Regions from separate parts of the Homo sapiens genome. Here regions 1, 2, 3 and 5 are each linked to region 4. The links are contacts of gene promoters, found by promoter capture Hi-C in blood cells and fetal thymus (Javierre and others, 2016). All regions are on one chromosome and are shown on one strand. The core of a region is centred on a gene start or on the middle of the fragment in contact, and the rest is flanking DNA. Distances in the headings are between cores, read along the strand shown. Region 1 holds the start of LOC124909361 (a long non-coding RNA gene). Region 2 overlaps CNOT10 (CCR4-NOT transcription complex subunit 10). Region 3 overlaps CNOT10 (CCR4-NOT transcription complex subunit 10). Region 4 holds the start of CMTM6 (CKLF like MARVEL transmembrane domain containing 6). Region 5 has its middle 40 kb from the start of CNOT10.

Region 1 (2,700 bases), core at 86-2,585, 130 kb before region 4:
CTACAGGCTTTCAGATGTTCTCCGAAATAAAAACAGCATAACCAGAAATCATTTGAGAAGGATAGTAATTGAACCAATAAAGTAGTTTTAGATGGCAAAGCCTGGTATCAAGAAAAGGTAGTGAGTGGGTGATTCAATGGAGGTGAAATGATAACTTTTGCTAATTAGGATGTGCCCTAAACCCCACTTCTATTATGCTTTGTTTTCTCCAGTTCTTTGCCTTCCTGGTCACCATCTGCTACGCTGGAAATACATATTTCAGTTTTATAGCATGGAGATCCAGGACCATACAGTGATTTACCATTTTGATAATTAAAAGGAAAAAAAAAGGAAGACTCTCACTGTAAAAACAGCTGTAGGTATAATGTATATTCCCAGAGAATTGTATTTAACTAATTAATGTTTTTTATATTCTTAAATTTGCTCACAAATTGTGGTTTGTTACAATTAAACTGGATACTTATTTGCAAAGTGTTGTAGCTTATAATGAACTCTTAAGTATCTTATTAATGTATTAATGTCTTCATAGATCATATTTTCTTAGACAATGTTTAAATAGATAAATTGCTAATATTGAGAATGTGTCAAGTTTGTAAACCTAACTTTTAAGATGCCAGATTCTTTTTTGATTAAATGTTGCAAAATCCCAAGTAATGTTGTGTTTGATTGGAGAAAGGAGACCTACCTGTTGAAGCCAGAGGCTAGGCTGTCAAGGCTGGTGGGAGGCTGGGAAGTCTCCCTCTTCACAGGGCTGCATCGTATGATATTGTCAGGTGACACTTATCCATAGTCTTAGGGCAAAGAGGCGGGAGATTCATCTCCCCAATTCTGGGGATCATAGATCAGTGTTCATGATTTTCATATGCTAACAGGTTGCCCCAGAAAGCATCTATTCAGACCTGGCCTTGGACATCAGTGATAAGCTCATGGGAAGTTATGCTACTAAGTGCAGTGACTGACGTGCTTGTGATATTTTTTCTAATATGCATTATAAAAAAATATATAACTATTAAAAGGATAAATATCTGAATATATTGAATATATCTTAAAATTATCTTGCTGGCTGGGCGCCGTGGCTCATGCCTTGTAATCCCAGCACTTTGGGAGGCCGAGGCAGGTGGATCACGAGGTCAGGAGATCGAGACCAGCCTGGCCAACATGGTGAAACCCCGTCTCTACTACAAATACAAAAATTAGCTGGGCGTGGTGGCGGGTGCCTGTAATCCCAGCTACTTGGGAGGCTGAGGCAGGAGAATCACTTGAACCCAGGAGGCAGAGGTTGCAGTGAGCCAAGATCACACCACTGCACTCCAGCCTGCTGACAGAGCAAGACTGTGTCTCAAAAAAAAAAAAAAAAATTGCTGACCACAGTAACATGTGTGCTATCTTTTGTGAAAACTACTGGGCCAGGCCAGGCACAGTGGCTCATGCCTATAATCCCAGCACTTTGGGAGCCTGACTGAGGTGGGCAGATCACTTGAGGCCAGGAGTTCGAGATCAGCTTGGACAAGATGGCAAAACTCCATCTGTACCAAAAATACAAAAAAATAAGCCAGGCATGGTGGTGCACCCCTGTGGTCCCAGCTAATTGGAAGGCTGAGATAGGAGGATCCCTTGGACCTGGGAGGAGGAGGCTGCAGCTAGCCGTGATCATGCCACTGCACTCCAGCTTGAGCAACAGAGTGGGGCCCTGTCTCAAAAAAAAAAAAAAAACTAATAATAAGACACTGCTGGACCAAAAGGTTTCAATATTCCAAATCTCCAGTGCAAAAATATTATAACATCATTATTAGATATTATCAGTTAAGGAGAAGAACTCACATCAGCAAGACAGTATGAACTTAGAGGAAGTGTTTTTAGATAGGACGATTCTTGCTAGTACAGCAGTGTATCTTGGATGATTTTTCAATATGAGCTTTTGAAAAACAAAAAACCACAGAAACGTTAGTGTAGTTGATGAGCGTGAACAAAGCTGAAGCTGTGCGCTCTGTTGATATGACTCCCATGGCCTCTGCCTCTTGATCTCTCACCTGTTTAGCAGTGCTGTTTTTTTCTGTTTGTGCTGGTTCTCTTTTTCTAATTCCATATCCAAGCTCTGATTACCCCTACATAGGAGAGTTGAGATTTCTTCAGTGTCTAGTCATACCCACCCCAGACCTTTGAAAGTACCAATGAAGAATGTTCTGGGGTTGTGGACTAGGCCCGCCCAAAGAGGTAGTGGGGAAGGAAGCTCCAAAAATGAGAGGTGAGTGTAGGGTATGGATGTGTGAGCAGGTGGTGTCGGGGGGCACACAAGGCCACTCTGTGCCCAAAATGTAGCAAGCCATGGAAGGCTGAACTTCCATAACACAGACCTGTAGGCAACTGGTGATGTGATCTTTGGGGAGCTGATTCCCAGTCATCACTGATTTTGCAGAAAAGCTGAAATAACTAGTCACAGTTGGCATGCTCTGCCCTTCCGTCCAGCTCTCCCTCTCACACTCACCAAAGCATGTGCACCTTCCACATACCCTGTGGGTTTTTCAAGTACTTTATGTTGCAAACAACACTCCATAAAAGTCAGAAAAAACAGTAACCTACAGAGGCCTGCTTCTGGAAACAGAAAGAAGCCTGCTTTTATGCTCCACGCAAGCATGTGTGTGTCATTTCTATAATCACGGCCACATTTATAGAACGTAACTTCTGGGGTGAAAAGTGCCG
Region 2 (2,700 bases), core at 168-2,667, 210 kb after region 4:
TAGGAAATAAAGTCAGAATTAGCCACGGGCAGAAGAGGTAAAGCCTAGGGCAGGGCTTACTGTCTTAGGTGCAGTGAGATTCCCTTGGAGATATATGACCTTTGCACACCAGCTGTGTTAATTTCAGTTTTTTAAATGAATTCCACTCTTTAAAGGCTTTTGAAATTTTCTCTTCTAGACCTTATTTTTCCTTTTATCTTCTTTTTTGAAAGGAAAGATAGTTTTATGTCACACCAGGTTAACTTTCCTCTCTTCATTGGGTTCTTTTTCTTTTGAAGGTCTTGTCTCTTGGCAGTCTCAATTTTCTGATATACTCCAGCCCATACCTTGCTGCTTTTGCTTCTGTAATCAGGTGTTTGTTTGTTTTTTTTTTTTTTCCATCTCCATGACCTAGAAAAGCAATGTATTTCATGGAGTCATAGACTTTTTTAGTTAGAAGGAACCTCACAAGATCCCCTGGTCCACCCTTCTGCCTTCAGGCAGGTAAAATATTCTCCTCATTTGACAGGTCAGCCAGCTGAGGTCTGAAAAGTTAAATGATGTACAGAGACCACACATACCTAGTTAGTGGCTGAATAGGTGCAGATTGAGTATCCCTTATCCAAAATGCTTGGGACAAGAAGTGTTTCAGATTTGGGATTTTTTTTAACTTTGGAATATTTGCATTATACTTACTGGTTCAGTATTCCTACCCTGAGGTCCAAAATGCTACCATGAGCATTTTATTTGAGCATCATTGGTGCTCAACAAGTTTTGGATTTTGAGGCTGGACACAGTGGCTCACACCTGTAATCCTATCCTTTGTGAGGCCAAAGTGGGTGGATCACTTGAGCTCAGGAGCTTGAGACCAGCCTGGGCAACATAGTGAAACCCTGTTTCTATGAAAAAATTAGCCAGGCATGGTGACACATGTTTGTGGTCCCAGCTACTCAGGAGGCTAAGGTGAAAGGATCTCTTGAGCCTAGTAGGCAGAGGTTGCAGTAAGCCAAGATTGCAACACTGCACTCCAGCCTGGGTAACACAGTGAGATACCATCTCAGAAACAAAAAAAGTTTTGGATTTTGGAGGATTACAAATTTCAGATTTCAACATTTCAGGTTAGGAATGCACAACCTCTATTGGAATTCAGGTTTCTTTCCGCCTAAAGTAATATTCCTCATTACATGTGCTAGTGTTTAGTAGATATTTTCCTAAGGAAGATTTAATCACTGGAATTTCTGAAATGAGAGGCCTTGCAGTGCCTAGTAAAATGACATTGTTGGCATTGCAAGTTGCTTTCATTCGTGGCTCTAGGTGATAGGCATTCATTTGAGTAAAGACTTATGCTTTGCTATTTAAAGCTTTGTATACTTTTTTGGAGGGTGGTCTGAAATGTGTGCTTTACTTTAGGTTGTGACTATTCTTTTCTGTGTTTTTTTTCTCCCAGAAGAAAAATTTGCCCAAGCAGTGTGTTTTTTGCTTGTAGACCTGTATATATTAACCTACCAAGCTGAGAAAGCTTTGCATCTTCTTGCTGTCCTAGAAAAAATGATTTCACAGGGTAACAATAACAAAAATGGAAAGAATGAGGTGAGTCTTTAGAGGTGATCAGACTAAAATCTAAAATGTGATTAATTCTCTCTACTTGTTGGTTTACTGGATTAAAAAGAAAGCAATTAAAATATGATTAATGTTTGTGGTTATGAACTATTAACAGCTTAAAGATACAATTTTCATATTATAAGCTTTACCATTTTAAAGTGTAGAGTTTAGTGGTTTTGAGTGTACTCACATTTGTACAACCATTACTACTATCTAATTTCAAAATATTTTTATCACCCCAAAAAGAAACCCTGTACCATTTGCAGTCACTCCCCATTTCCCCCTTTCCTCAGCCCCAAGCAGCCGTTAATCTAATTACTGTCTCTGAATTTACTGTCTGGACATTACATATGAATGGAATCATAATATGCGGCTATTTGTCACTGGCTTTTTTTACTTAGTGTAATGCTTTCAAGCTTCATCCATATTTTAGCATATACTTATTTTTGTTTCATGTACTTCATGCCTTTTGTGGCTGAATAATATTCCATTCATTATATGAATATGCCACATTTTAAAAAATTCTTTATCAGTTGGTGGACATTTGGGTTCTTTTCTACTTTTTGGTTATTATATATAGTGCTTCTGTGACCATTCATGTACAAATTTTTGTGTGGATATATGTTTTCAGTTACATTGGATATAATATTTAGGAATAGAATCACTGGGTTATATGGTATCTTAACTCTATATTTAACCCTATACAAGACTGTTTTACAAAGTGGCTGCACTATTTTAAATTCCCACCGGCCACTTGTGAGGTTGTAATTTCTCCACATTGTTACCAACACTTGTTATTGTCTATCTTTAAAAAAAAATTAGCTATCTTAGGGGGTGTGAAGTGGTATCTTGTTACAGTTTTGATTTTTATTTTCCTAATGACTAAGGATGTACATTGAGCATCTTTTCATATATGAGCTATTATTTTTATAGAATTGAAAGATTGGAATTAAGACAATAGAATCCATAACCTGGATAAACACTATTGCTTTCATTAGGGAAAATTTCATCATTAAAGTTCTTCAAAAAAAAAAAAAAAATACATGGCTGGGCGTGGTAGCTCACACCTGTAATCCCAGCACTTTGAGAGTCCAAGGCGGGTGGATCACCTGAGGTCAG
Region 3 (2,700 bases), core at 198-2,697, 190 kb after region 4:
AGTGGCATCCTTCTTAAGATTTAAAACTTTCCTTCACAAGGGCATCATTGGTATTTTGTGACTGTGATTGTTGATTTCCTTAGGTCTTTTAACATCCCTTTTTTCTTTGGAAAAGTTTTCTTTTCTTGATATATCAGTGGAGCTGTATTTTGATGAGTGTAGCTTGTAGTCTCCACCAATCAGATTTGAATGATTAACATTCTGTATTGGAATGTGTCTGTGCTTTCAGTTAACTGATGATTTTCAGTTTTGAAAACGTGGTGCATTTCTTTTCTGCTTAGTTCAAACCTAAAGGCAATTGTTTATTTAGAAATGAAGTCTATTGGTGTAAAGACTGTCAAGGTTTGTGGGTCAAAGAGCTCTGTACGCATAGAAGGTCAGCCATGTTCATTAGGCCAGAGTAGAAGGAAAGTCAAGCTTATGGGTGAACGGTCGTATACTCTTTCAATTGGCAACGGAGACTACTTTTGGGCAAATAAAGAAATGCTGTGGGATTATGTGCAGACTCTGTCTGGTAAGAAGTCAGTAGTTATAAATAATAAATGTTTTTAAAACATTAAAAAAACTGATTACAAAAATGAATACCCATTTCTGGCAGAAAACTCGAGAAATGTACAAATACACAAGGAAAATAAAAATAATCCTGTTGAAGAGAGTGTGTGTGTGTGTGTGTGTGTGTGTGTGTGTGTGTGTGTGTGTGTGTATTTGAAATGGGGTCTTGGCCGGGCGTGGTGACTCATGCTGGTAATCCCAGCACTTTGGGAGGCCGAGGCAGGCGGATCACTTGAGATCAGGAGTTCAAGACCAACCTGGCTGACATGGTAAAACCCTGCCTCTACTAAAAATACAAAAATTAGCTGAGCATGGTGGCGGGCACCTATAATCCCAGCTACTCAGGAGGCTGAGGCAGGAGAATCACTTGAACCTGGGAAGCAGAGGTTGCGGTGAGCTGGGATTGTGCCTCTGCACTCCAGCCTGGGCAACAGAGTGAGACTCCGTCTCAAAAAAAAAAAAGAAGAAGAAGAAGAAATGGGGTCTCACTGATTGCTCAGGCTGGTAGTCATATACTGGGCTCAAGCAATCTTCCCACCTAAGCCTCCTGAGTAGTGAAGTGTGTTTTTTTAAAAACAGAAAATTTTCATCCTGAAGTTAAAGAAGGTAGGTAAAATAATGGTTCGTTAACATGTAAAAGGTTATTTATTGAGCTCAGTTCTGTGAAATGTGTGTAGAAATGGGAATTTCAGAGGCTCTTGTCAGCCTTAGAGTCCAGCTTATCTATTTATTTATTTATTATTTATTTATTTTGAGATGAGGTCTCACTGTCACCCAAGCTGGAGTGCAGTGGCACAATCTCAGCTCACTGCAGCCTCCACTTCCTGGGTTCAAGTGATCCTCCCTCCTCAGCCTCCCAAGTAGCAGGACTACGGGCATGTGCCACCACACCTGGCTAAGTTTTGTGTTTTTGGTAGAGATGGGTTTTCACCATGTTGTCCTGAGCTCAAGATCCACCCTCCTCAGCCTCCCGAAGTGCTGGGATTACAGGCGTGAGCCAGTGTGTCCAGCCCAGCTTATATATTTATCTTAAATTGGCTTCTCTCCTTTTCTGGAGAATTTTAGGAGACTTACATTTTCTTTTTCTTTTCTTTTTTTTTTTTGAGATGGAGTCTCGCTCTGTCACCCAGACTGGAGTGCAGTGGCGTGATCTCGGCTCACTGCAGCCTCTGCCTTCCGGGTTCCAGTGATTCTCCTGCCACAGCCTCCCAAGTAGCTGAGATTGTAGGCATATGCCACCACGCCCAGCTAATTTTTGTATTTTTAGTAGAAACGGGTTTCACCATGTTGGCCAGGCTGGTCTGGAACTGCTGACCTCAGGTGATCTGCCCACCTTGGCCTCCCAAAGTGCTGAGATTATAGGCGTGAGCCACCATGTCCAGCCTGATACTTCCATTTTCTGGGGTTGCTAACAGCAGTGGCCACATGAACTACTCTACTTTTAGTGGAGAATAGAAGCTCAAAATTTTCAACACCTGGGTGAGTTGTTGGGTTTTCCCCTTTGCCCTGTATTTCTAAGGTGCTCTTACAGTTGGTCCCAAAAGTCCCATTAAAGAATGTCATCTAATCTAGGGCATATTTTACTTATTTATTTTATTCATATCTTTTATTATTATTATTTTTGAGACAGGGTTTCACTCTGTCACCCAGGCTGGAGTGCAGTGGCATGGTCACGGCTCACTGCAGCCTCAACCTCCCAGGCTTCAACGATTATCCCACCTCACCTCCCCAAGTAGCTGGGACTACAGGCACATGCCACTATGCCTGGCTAATTAAAACAATTTTTTAAAATAGAGACAGGGTCTTGTTTTGTTTCCCAGGCTGGTCTGGAACTCCTAGGCTCAAGCAGTCCTCCTTCCTTGGCCTGCCAAACTGCTGGGATTACAGGTGTGAGCCACTGCCCAGCCAAGGGGCATATTTTAGAAGAAGCTTTAGAGAAAACTCAATAGCAAACTAAGAATTTTTGGCATTTGGTTTAAATTATGCTTCTTTATGAGAGAAGACACATTTTTTAAAATGTTAGGTTTTATAAAATCTTTAATAATAAAAGAAACATGAAAGATATTTATATTCTTTGTTAAAGTTTTATGGTGACAATATGTGGATTGAGGATCCTGTTTCAATCTAAACTTATAACTTGCCTTCTGA
Region 4 (2,700 bases), core at 52-2,551:
CGCTAAACAGCAGTGCCGATTTTCCGACTTCTGTTTTTCTATTCAATAAAAGTAGGTCACTAGAGTTCTAAGAATTTAACTTCGGGTCATTTGAGTTGTAAGAATTTAAGTTCTTTCCAAGGAAACCAATGAGCTAATTTTTACTTAGAATGGTTAAAAAACAAAACAAAGTAAGACAAAACTCATAAACATCATAAGCATTCGGATTTTTCCTAAACTGGTTCTATTGCAGAAATAGAACCTAAACTGTTTCTATTTTTCCTAAACTGGTTCAACCATCAGTGGTTGGAACAGTACATAGGAGCCAACACGACTGTAAAGTGAATAATTTAAATCTCAAAGATGCTTTGATGTTTTCACGAACAGGTTTATGGTACTTCAACTGCTTAAAATAAACTCAATAAAATGGAAAGATGCATACCATGTCCTAGTTCAGCTATCCGCACATACTTACAAAAAGCTGTCCTTTTGACTTTCCACTTAGAACCCATATTGCTCAATTTTGAAATAATTCTTTTCCAGTCAATATAAAACTTTTAGAAGACAATTTACCGGACACACATACACACACATCTCAATGCCACGCGTGGTATCGCAGGACTTTGTCCAGCAAGTTAAACTGCCCCCATGGGCTCGCAGCAGGAAAACCGCAAGAGCCAGAGAAAGATAAACAGCGCTTCACAGTCTAAATACAGGCACTGTGGGCGATAATGCAGGGTAGCAGCAGAGAGAAGAGAGGAAAGTCGCCATAGAGGATGAGTGAAAGATGTTGAAGTGGCTGACTTGGGTCTCCGACGCATTTCCTGAGCCCGCCTAACAGGCTGGGTGGCCCCAGTTCGTGGGATCCCGATGGGGAGAGCCTTGGGACTGAGGGGCCGCCCGGCGGAAGGGCGGAGGGTAACGCCCCCTTCCCCAGGCTGAGAGGGAAGGAACTAGAGGTGTGGAAACCTCCTTTTACTGAACAACCAAGCTGAAACGAAGGAGCTCGGCGGCCTCCCAAGCCCGGGCCAGACCCCGCTCCCCAGCCCGGGCTCGCCCTCCCTGACCGCGGACTCACCAGCTGCAAGCCCTTGAGAACGCGCCGGAGCAATGGGAGCCGGCCCATGAAAAAGTAGGCAGCGAGGCCGCTCCGGGGGCCTCTGGCGGGGCCCGGGTCCTCCTCCGTAGTGGGGCTGTACACCGCTCCGTTCTCCATCGCCTCGGGCCGGGGAGCGCGGCGGCCGCAGCAACCGCGCCGTTGACTTCTCGGACTCCAGAAGTCCCCGGTAGCCGGGAGGCGGCCGTCACTTCCTGGGCCTTCTCCCCGGCTTCCGCCTGACTCCGCCCCTTCCCGCCCCCGCCCTTGGCCCGCCCCGCCCCCTCTCAGCAAATTTGCTTGTTAGCTGTTGGGATTCTTCCGACTTTCATCCAAGAATTGAGTTCTTTCTGTGAGCCTTTGATGGATTTCTCACCTCCCTCCATCTTTCATCCTCCTGACATTCATTCACTTAGTATTTTTGCGTACTTTCGGTGTGCAGTGAACCCCGTTCTAGGTACTTGGGTGACAGCCAAGTACTACCCAAAATCACAGGATCCCTAGTAACAGAGACAGACAATAAACAAGAAAACAGATGGATAGCAATTTCAGATAGTGATAAGTGACGTGAAAATATGATACGAAAATAATGGATTCAGCATTTCTGGTGGCTTGATAAATTTATTAAAAAAAAAAAGAAGATGGAGGAGGAGGAGAAGAGGAAGGAGAAGGAAAAAAGGATGGAGAATTGGGTGCTCTACTTAAATGGCCACTACTAAACTGAGTGGTCAGGAAAGGCCTCTCTGAGGACCATGATCTTTGAATTGAATGAGACTCAAAGTGTGAGAAGCCAGGCTTGTAAAGTTCTGGGGAGAGCCTTTCACGAAAGTGCAAATGTCCCGAGGACCAAATGAGTTTGACTCAATCTGAAGCCCAAAGGCCTGTGTCGCTAGGAATAAGTACGGGAGGAAAGGAGATGTTGGAGATGTAGGCAAAGGCCAGATAATGTGGAGGCCTTGCAGACCAAGGGAAGAATTCGTATTTCATTTGAAGTACAATGAGTTGTCTGTAAGGACTTTCAGAATCGCTCCCTCCCGCGTCTCCCGAAATTCCATTTAGGCTCACTTTTCAAAATCATTTCCTTTTTCTCTTTCTTGGTCACCAACTGCTACAGTCACATATGTTAATTTTGTGTGAACTTGTCAAGGAATGTAATTATATTTTAGCAACTGAAGTTGATTGAGTTACAGGATGTTCACAACAATATAAAGTAGGTTCGACAGTATAAAGTCGGTTACATTCATTTTCAAATGAGAAAACTGAGGCCAAGAGGCTGAAATCATATCCAAGGTCAAACAGCCAGGAGCAGCTGGAATGCAGGCCTAAGCAGTCTGACTCGAAACCTTGCTGCTAAACGCTAACCCAGAAAACGTCAGCTTCTAACTCATCTCTCCATTGGAGTCTCAAAACCCATGGAAGAGAGAAGGGGTTTCTGCTGCCATCAGCTGCTACATCTTCTCCGTGGCCCCAAACCTCCCTTTCTTCTTCCAGTAACAAACAAAAGCTCCCATTCAAATGAATAGAGACAAGTAGATACTGCCCTGCAGGGGCCACCTACAACCAGCCAGAACTACCCTTCTGTCTCTGATTACATGCACTCTGAATGTCCTCCCAAGGCCAAGATG
Region 5 (2,700 bases), core at 141-2,640, 140 kb after region 4:
CAGTTTTGTGCCTGAAAACAGAAGAGGGATTATTTATCTATCAGCTCCTATCTCCCCTTGGTCAACAGTTACACCATAAGGTGTTAACTCTCGAACTTCCAGGTTCGCCAATGCAACCGCATGGCTGAACAGATTCTTGCAGCCATCCCATTCAGCAGCATGGCTTTCGGAAGCCCCAGGGGCAGAAAGCAAGAGATACACAGGGCAGCTGAGGCAAGATATTGTTAGTTTACACTTGTTCACAGCCAGTTTCTGCAGCAACTACTGGAAGAGATGGTCAAAAGGCGGGAACACAATGTGGAGGAGCTGAGCAGCAAGTGCCTCAGGTCGCCAAATTTAACAAATTAGGATGAGCTTGTTTTCATCTATGAGAATCCACTCAGAGCTGTTGATTTTTAAAACTTTTACTTACCATTTTCTTCTATTTTTTAGCACCATGGGCTCCTCTGCTCCTGCCCCAGTGTATACAGGTCTTCACGTAGAGGGCAGCAATGTGTTCTGTCTGCACAGAGGCTCTAGCTTGGACGAGCTCTATAAAGAGGTCAGTGACTTCCCAGGATGCCAACACTCTGCTTCCGTAAGTCAAGACATAAGTGCCTAATGACCAGCTAGGAGGATCTGACTCTTCTTAGGTTCTACTCCTGTTTTCTAGATGTTTTATTATTATTATTATACTTCAAGTTCTAGGGTACATGTGCACAACGTGCAGGTTTGTTACATATGTATACATGTGTCATGTTGGTGTGCTGCACCCATATATTTCTAGATGTTAAAAGGCAGCCTATTTATTAAAAGTATAAACTTGCCTGAGTTTGAATTGGCTCCACCTCTTACCGTGTCCTCTCTGTGCCTGAGATTTCTTATCTGTAAAACAGAAATTTAATATAACCTATGTTATATTAAATTAAATTAAATTATATTAATATAATATAATATTAAATTATATTATATTAATATAATATAATATTAAATTATATTATATTAATATAATATTAAGTTAAATTATATTATATTTAATATAATATAATATTAAATTATATTAAATATAATATAACCTATATTATATTAAATTATATTATAACATAGGTTATATATAACCTATGTTATATTAAATTTAAATATAATTAAATTATATTAAATTAAATGTCATAGGCTTATGGTTAAGATTCAATGAGTTAAGCTGGACAGGGTGGCTTACACCTGTAATCCTAGTGACTCTGGAGGCTGAGGCAGGAGGATTGCTTGAGCCCAGGAGTTAGAGGCTGCAGTGAACTATGATCATGCCACTGCATTCCGGATGGGGAGACACCTGTCTGCTAGAAAAAAAAAATTCAATGAATTAATGTATGTTAAGTATTTAGAACAGTGCCTGGCACTGAGTAAGTAAGCCCTTGGTAAAAATCCCGTTCCGTGTTGTCCACATATGTGATCAACTCCAGCTGTCCTCTTTGGGTAGGAAGAAAAACTGGTATGCATCTAGTTATTGAGGGGTTAACAATGCCAGAACCCATTGCCTTTGTTAAATTCCCCACAGTGCAACACATAGAAAATACTATTGATGGGGCCTAGGACATGCCACCCTAAAATATGATGGTAGAAGACCAGAATATGCTATCCCGGATGTGCCCCTTTGGCATAAGGATTATTTTTGAGAAACTGCAGACACAGGAGAAGCTCAGAAAAGTTACCCTTTTGTAAGACAAACTGACATTTATGAAGGAAATCTCCATTTTTAAAGGTGTCTTTCTCTCTGCACCAGAAAGAGAAGGATAACTAAATCACTAGAGACTCTTATCGATGGAGAAATAATTGCCTTAAAATGTCCTAACAGGCAGGATGTGGTGGCTCACGTCTGTTATCCCAGCACTTTGGGAGGCTGAGATGGGCAAATGGCTTGAGCCCAGGAATTTGCTACCTGCCTGGGCAACATGGCAAAACCCCATTTCTGCAAAAATTAGCTGGGCATGGTGGTGCATGCTTGTAGTCCCAGATAGTTGGATGGCTGAGGCGGGAGGATCACCTGAGCCTAGGAGGTAAAGGCTGCAGTGAGCTGAAATAGAGCCACTTCACTCCAGCATGGGCAACAGAGTGAGAGCCTGTCTTAAAAAGAAAAGAAAAAGTCATAACAAAACTTGCCCTTATTATCTAGAACTAGAAATACCATTTGACCCAGCAATCCCATTACTGGGTATATACCCAAAGGATTATAAATCATGCTGCTATAAAGACACATGCACACGTATGTTTATTGCAACACTATTCACAATAGCAAAGACTTGGAACCAAGGCAAATGTCCAACAATGATAGACTGGATTAAGAAAATGTGGCACATATACACCATGGAATATATGCAGCCATAAAAAATGATGAGTTCATGTCCTTTGTAGGGACATGGATGAAGCTGGAAACCATCATTCTCAGCAAACTATCGCAAGGACAAAAGCCAAACACCGCATGTTCTCACTCATAGGTGGGAATTGAACAATGAGAACACATGGACACAGGAAGGGGAACATCACACTCTGGGGCCTGTTGTGGGATGGGGGGAGGGGAGGGGGATAGCATTAGGAGATATACCTAATGTAAATGACGAGTTAATGGGTGCAGCACACTAACATGGCACATGTATACATATGTAACAAACCTGCATGTTGTGCACATGTACCCTAAAACTTAAAGTATAATAAAAAAAAATTGCC

What was found. The method cuts DNA at HindIII sites, captures the fragments that hold promoters and counts their contacts. A CHiCAGO score of 5 or more calls a contact.
Region 1: a contact is called between a fragment that was not itself captured here and the fragment with the promoter of CMTM6 in region 4, in 3 of 17 cell types (total B cells, total CD8 T cells and naive CD4 T cells). The highest score is 5.7, in total B cells.
Region 2: a fragment that was not itself captured here is called in contact with the fragment with the promoter of CMTM6 in region 4 in 3 of 17 cell types (megakaryocytes, erythroblasts and M1 macrophages); the score reaches 7.6 in megakaryocytes.
Region 3: a contact is called between a fragment that was not itself captured here and the fragment with the promoter of CMTM6 in region 4, in 7 of 17 cell types (megakaryocytes, erythroblasts, monocytes and 4 more). The highest score is 7.7, in megakaryocytes.
Region 5: a contact is called between a fragment that was not itself captured here and the fragment with the promoter of CMTM6 in region 4, in 1 of 17 cell types (megakaryocytes). The highest score is 5.1, in megakaryocytes.

What each region holds. Positions count from the first base shown.
Region 1 is chr3:32,369,672-32,372,371 of GRCh38, forward strand. It overlaps CMTM8 (CKLF like MARVEL transmembrane domain containing 8), which reads left to right. Exons shown (of 4, transcript NM_178868.5): 4 at 213-650. The coding sequence ends at 296. LOC124909361 (a long non-coding RNA gene) reads left to right here and starts at 1,687. Exons shown (of 2, transcript XR_007095859.1): 1 at 1,687-2,700. The HindIII fragment of the contact is 3,277 bases long and covers 1-2,700 here.
Region 2 is chr3:32,711,801-32,714,500 of GRCh38, forward strand. It overlaps CNOT10 (CCR4-NOT transcription complex subunit 10), which reads left to right. Exons shown (of 19, transcript NM_015442.3): 5 at 1,427-1,569. Among named protein-coding and RNA genes, the nearest start is that of CNOT10-AS1, 24 kb to the right of the region's middle. The HindIII fragment of the contact is 158 bases long and covers 1,339-1,496 here.
Region 3 is chr3:32,695,314-32,698,013 of GRCh38, forward strand. All of the region lies in intron 1 of CNOT10 (CCR4-NOT transcription complex subunit 10), which reads left to right. Among named protein-coding and RNA genes, the nearest start is that of CNOT10, 11 kb to the left of the region's middle. The HindIII fragment of the contact is 2,064 bases long and covers 416-2,479 here.
Region 4 is chr3:32,501,551-32,504,250 of GRCh38, forward strand. CMTM6 (CKLF like MARVEL transmembrane domain containing 6) reads right to left here and starts at 1,302. Exons shown (of 4, transcript NM_017801.3): 1 at 1,058-1,302. The coding sequence starts at 1,195. RefSeq lists silencers at 1,013-1,242, 1,313-1,402. The HindIII fragment of the contact is 6,143 bases long and covers 1-2,700 here.
Region 5 is chr3:32,643,514-32,646,213 of GRCh38, forward strand. No RefSeq gene overlaps it. Among named protein-coding and RNA genes, the nearest start is that of CNOT10, 40 kb to the right of the region's middle. The HindIII fragment of the contact is 4,319 bases long and covers 1-2,700 here.